Linked DNA regions of Homo sapiens: region 1 is linked to region 2. Evidence: promoter capture Hi-C in human tissues and cell types (Jung and others, 2019). All regions are on one chromosome and are shown on one strand. Each heading gives the region's core, a stretch centred on a gene start or on the middle of the fragment in contact. The rest is flanking DNA. Distances are from core to core; before and after follow the strand shown. Region 1 overlaps CEP164 (centrosomal protein 164). Region 2 holds the start of KMT2A (lysine methyltransferase 2A).

Evidence for each region. The method cuts DNA at HindIII sites, captures the fragments that hold promoters and counts their contacts. A contact is called where the count stands out against the background at its distance.
Region 1: a fragment that was not itself captured here is called in contact with the fragment with the promoter of KMT2A in region 2 in 1 of the 25 tissues and cell types used here (dorsolateral prefrontal cortex).

The regions. Positions count from the first base shown.
Region 1 is chr11:117,337,138-117,339,837 of GRCh38, forward strand. It overlaps CEP164 (centrosomal protein 164), which reads left to right. Exons shown (of 33, transcript NM_014956.5): 3 at 1,429-1,531. The coding sequence starts at 1,450. Among named protein-coding and RNA genes, the nearest start is that of CEP164, 11 kb to the left of the region's middle. The HindIII fragment of the contact is 3,425 bases long and covers 1-2,700 here.
Region 2 is chr11:118,435,192-118,437,891 of GRCh38, forward strand. It overlaps KMT2A (lysine methyltransferase 2A), which reads left to right and starts at 1,301. Exons shown (of 36, transcript NM_001197104.2): 1 at 1,301-1,753. The coding sequence starts at 1,322. RefSeq lists enhancers at 273-1,270, 470-609, 1,271-2,269, 2,270-2,700 and a silencer at 920-1,399. The HindIII fragment of the contact is 10,858 bases long and covers 1-2,700 here.

The sequences.
Region 1 (2,700 bases), core at 199-2,698, 1.1 Mb before region 2:
ACAGAAATCTCTTTTCTCATAGTTCTGGAAGCTAGAAGGCCCATATCAAAGTCTGTTGCTGGTTCCTGTCTTGCAGACAGCTGCCTTCTTGCTGTGTCCTCAGATGGTAGAGAGAGACCTCTAAGCCACTAGACAGTGGGCCCCATCTGCTGCCCTGGTTCCTGGTCCTTTCTTCCTCTCCTTTTAATCCTATCAGGCCATTTAACCTTAATGACCTCATTTAACTTTAATTACCTCCTAAAGAACCAGTCACATTGTGGATTAGGGCTTCAATATGTGTATTTTTCTTACTTTGAGAGGCTGAGGCGGGAGCATTGCTTGCACCCAGGAGTTCAAGACCAGCCAGGGCAACATAGTGAGACACCATCTCTGTAAAAAAAAAAAAAAGTAAAATATATACATATGTGAATTTTGAAGGGATGTAGCTCCTTTCCACTTTTCCCCCATATCCTGGTCCTATTAAGCTTAACATCACTGGGTCTGTTCTGACTGTCTCTTCTTCATTCCCCTGCTTCTGCCCTAGTTAAAGTCCTTATCATCTCGCCCCTGGGCAGCAGCCTCCTCAGGTGGTTTTCCTGACACCAGTCTCTCATTTCTCCAATCCAGCCATGCCAGTCTTGCCAGAATTCTTGTCCTAAAAAAAGGCCACCCTGTGATACTTTGTTTCACCAGAGCCCTCAGTGACTCCCCTCTGGTGTAGGACAGGGTGGAGGCTCTTTAGCACGGTCTGCAAGGCTCACTGTGACCAGCCGGTCACACATGTTGGTATCCCCACTCTGGAACACCTGTCTGTGCAAGATGCTCCCTCTGTTTAGAATGCCTTTCTCCCCCATCAGAATTCTTGCCAGCCTTCCTTCCTTCCTTCCTTTTTTTGGGGAAATTTTTTGCCCTTATCTTAGCACTCTCAGAACAGGAAGTTTTTTTCCCTTCTGCCTTCTGCTGCTCTTGAGGTCGTTCCCGCCACTGGATTGTAAGCTTCCTGAGGGCATTTTGGATATGAATCGGGACATCCAGATGGGCATATGTGTTGAGATGGGGGTGTGCCACGGAGATGTGCTGGTGTATGGGGGTCTGTGCTGCTGGTTATTTTGGTGTCACTAGGATTTTTACTTGGTGGTTCTGTATTATAATTGTTTCTTCTATCTGGGGGAGGCACAAAGTCAAACTCTTGACAGAGCCAGGCTTGAAGATGTTTTGTGGTTCACCAGGTGTTCATCAAGCCTTTGGGAGACCTTTGCCAGGTGCAGAGCCTGTGAGCCTTGAGTTGTTGGTTTCACCCTCCACTATACCTGGCGCCTGGGAAGGCCCTGGCCAAATTGCTCTGCAGGGTCTGGTTTGACCCAGATGCTCCATGACCCAGTGCCAACTTTTCCCCTGTTAAGCTTGGTCACTGATTTTTCTCTTTTGGTGGGGGCCTCTGGGATCTAGGTGTTTGAGCCCAGATGAGTCATGGCTGGACGACCCCTCCGCATAGGAGATCAGCTGGTTCTGGAAGAAGATTATGATGAGACCTACATTCCTAGTGAGCAAGGTAACAAGTCTGTGAAGAGGCCTGTGGTGTATTGTGTTTGTTTTTTGAGGACAGGGATTGTCTGGTTTATTTTTATTCTTTCAGTGCAAAGTATGGTACATGTACAGAGTTGCTTAGTATATTCGGGTTAGATCAAATGTGAGCCTACCTTGGCCTCTTGCCTGTTTTTTTTTAAGTTTCTTTCTGTTGCCCAGGCTGGAGTGCAGTGGCGTGATCTCAGCTCACTGCAACCTCTGCCTCCCAGGTTCAAGTGATTCTCCCACCTCAGCCTCCCGAGAAGCTGGGATTACAGGCGTGCACCACCACACCTGGCTAATTTTTTGTACTTTTAGTAGAGACGGGTTTCACCATGTTGGACAAGCTGGTCTCGAACTCCCGACCTCAAGCGGTTTGCCTGCCTCCGGCTCCCAAAGTGCTGGGATTACAGGCGTGAGCCACCTTGCCTGGCTACTTGCCTATTTTTGTAAATACACCTTCATTGGAAAACAGCCACAATGGTTTATGTATTGTGTGTGGCTGCTTCTATGCTACAGCTGCAGAGATATGTGGCTGTTAAGAGAGGTATATGACCCACAAAGGGTAAGATAGTTACTCTCCGGTTGTTTACAGAAAAAGTTTGCTGTCTTTGGGTTAGAGCAGTGATTAGATTTAAATGGAAACATAGTAGGGGGTATCTAAATACAGTGTGTTCTGAGACCAGGGGAAACCCAATTTCCTAAGCACGAACTTAGAGCAGTGTTTTTTTAAACAACAATAACATTATTAGTAACAATAACAACATAACTTATTATGTGCCAGCGTCTGTTTTAAGCACTTTGCATGTATTACCTTATTACCTTTTCCTTTGTTTTTTGTTTTTTTTTTTTTTTTTTTTTTTTGAGACAGAGTCTCACTCTGTCACCCAGGCTGGAATGCAGTGGTATGATCTTGGCTCACTGCAACCTCTCTCTCCCGGGTTCAAGCGAATCTCATGCCTCAGCCTCCTGAGTAGCTAGAACTACAGGTGCCCACCACCACACCTGGGGAACTAATTTTTGTATTTTTAGTAGAGAAGGGGTTTTGCAGTGTTGGCCAGGCTGGTCTCAAACTGACCTCAAGTGATCTTCCCACCTCCACTTCCCAGAGTGCTGGGATTACAGGCGGGAGACACCATGCCTGGCCCATGTATT
Region 2 (2,700 bases), core at 51-2,550:
AACGCAAGTTCTCCCGACACAAACCCCTCCCTACCCTCTCGGCTTTCCCAGCCTTGCAGGCGTCTAACGCTATGCTCGAGGCGCCCTCCCCTCTTTCCCGCAATAAAGTAAACCCGGTGGATATTCATTCCCCTCCCTAACTCGCCTCCTTCTTTCCCCCTCCCCCCTCAGCTTACTAACCCCGCGCACAGAGCTCGCCGCCGGCGGGCCCCTTCCACCCAGTGTATCATAATGCCCAACGCTCTCCTCCTCCCCCTCTCTTAATCAGAAACGTGCTCGCGAGCCCCCCTCCCTCTGCGTGCATACATTAGGGTCTGCTTTGCATGCAGCGGCAGGCAGAGACCGGAGGAAGAAGGGGCGGGGGCGCTTTTGCCCGCCTCTTCCCTCCAGGCCCCGTTAGCCACCCAGCTTCAGCTTCGTTGTAACACCGCGTCGTTAGCGGAGCACGCCGTGGCCTCAGTGCCCGGGCTGGAGAAACACAACCCAACTCCCTGCAGAAGGGCACGAAAGCCAGACGAGTGCACAGTAGAGCGAGGAGGTGGCAGGAGACCTGCCACTCGGTGTGTGCTTTTTGGAAAGAGCTCCAGCATGAAAATGGGAGGGGCTCCTTTTTTATTTTTTAAAGTGCGTTCATTGAGGGCCTTTCTGTTTTGCATATAGTAAACTGGGCAGCGCTTCTGTTTTGCATGTAGTACAATAAGGGCTCTTTTATTCTAGAAGCGTTCAATTCGGGCTAACCCATCTTGTATCCGTGCCCTGGGGCGGAGGAGAAGGCTCACTGCTCCCCGACCCAGCCGCCGCGTTATACTGGAAGCTGCTCTCCCGGGCTGTTCGATTCCCAGCGCGTCCCGGGAACGTGTGTAATCGGCCTCTCGGCGCTCAAGGCTGCAGGCGGCCCGGCTCCCTACGCCTCCATCCTCCGCGTAGTCCTCGCCCCCTCCCCCTCTCTCCGGAACCCGCGCTCTGCTCCGGGCTCCCGGGCTTCCTTCCCCCCTCCTTTTCCCGAGCAATGCCTCTCCCGGAGGGCGGGGCATGCAGTTATCCAGGTTGCGGGGCCGGCGGGCGGGCAGGAGGCGGCGGCCCGGGCCTCGGGATGGAGTTGCAGCGCCCAGGCGTCAGAGGCGGAGGCCCGAGGCCGCTATACAGATTGCGGGGCTGGCGGGCGCGGCCCGGCGCTCTGCATAGCGGCCGGCAGGGTGCAGGCGGCCGGGCGGCGCAGAGCTGGTTAGGCAGGTTCCGGGGCCCCGTGCCCCCCCCTCCGCCTCCCCGCCCCCCTGTGTTGTCGCCTCTCCCTCTCGCTGCTTCACTTCACGGGGCGAACATGGCGCACAGCTGTCGGTGGCGCTTCCCCGCCCGACCCGGGACCACCGGGGGCGGCGGCGGCGGGGGGCGCCGGGGCCTAGGGGGCGCCCCGCGGCAACGCGTCCCGGCCCTGCTGCTTCCCCCCGGGCCCCCGGTCGGCGGTGGCGGCCCCGGGGCGCCCCCCTCCCCCCCGGCTGTGGCGGCCGCGGCGGCGGCGGCGGGAAGCAGCGGGGCTGGGGTTCCAGGGGGAGCGGCCGCCGCCTCAGCAGCCTCCTCGTCGTCCGCCTCGTCTTCGTCTTCGTCATCGTCCTCAGCCTCTTCAGGGCCGGCCCTGCTCCGGGTGGGCCCGGGCTTCGACGCGGCGCTGCAGGTCTCGGCCGCCATCGGCACCAACCTGCGCCGGTTCCGGGCCGTGTTTGGGGAGAGCGGCGGGGGAGGCGGCAGCGGAGAGGTAAGGGGGCGAGGAACCCCCAGGTCCGGGGTCTCGACCCTCTGCGGAGCCCCCTCCCCTCCCCCATCCGGGATTGAGGAGCATCCCAATTCTGGGACCATCTCGGGGTCCCTGACCCGGGGCGAATGGCTCTCCCATCTTGGGACCCCCATGCAGGGCTGCAGACCCCCAGGCGCCCCCACCCCGGGGTTTGGGCCCATCTGGCTGAGGGCGTTTGCCCCCCGCTCTCCTCCCCCTGACCCTTCCCCAAATCCCTTGGCACAGACCCCCTCGCCGGGGTTTCCCATCCCGGGACTGAACCCCTCCTCCCTTTCACAGATTACCTCATCCGAGCAAGATTCCTCCCTCCCTCCCTCCTAGAGACCTGATCCCGCCACATCCCCGCCTCCCTCTCTGGGCAGATGTGTTACTCCTAGGGCAGTTTTCCTCTCGGGCGTCTCTCGGGTGATGGCCTCATCCAGGGCCACGTTCTCCTGGCCCTTGGGGATCGTGTCCCTTCCAGCACCTTGCTTTCGAAAACCCGATGAACCCTCGCGCCATCCCCGGGCCAGGTCCCTATACTGCCAGCCACTCCCCCTTCCTTCACCTCCACCCTCTACCCCCACCCCAAGCAGACCGATCCTCCCCCATCCCGCCCTACCCCACCGGGGAAAATCTCTCCTCTGCACCTTGCCTGGTCTCACCTCCTTTCCCTCTGAAGATAACGGTGATTCCTCATACAGCAGTCTCTTCCCCCCCCCGCCCCGTCTTACAGGGCTACAGTTTCTAGCCTATTGGTAGCCGGGAATTACTCTACCTTCACTCCACCCTTTCCCTCCTTTAGAATGAAGGATTAGTGGCATCTTGGAGGGGAAAATAGTCCACTGTCCCCTAGGCTTAGAGAAGAGCAGCTTTCCACCACTCCCCTTGGAGAGGAGGCAGGCTTTCCCTCCAGCTCTGGGGAAGGG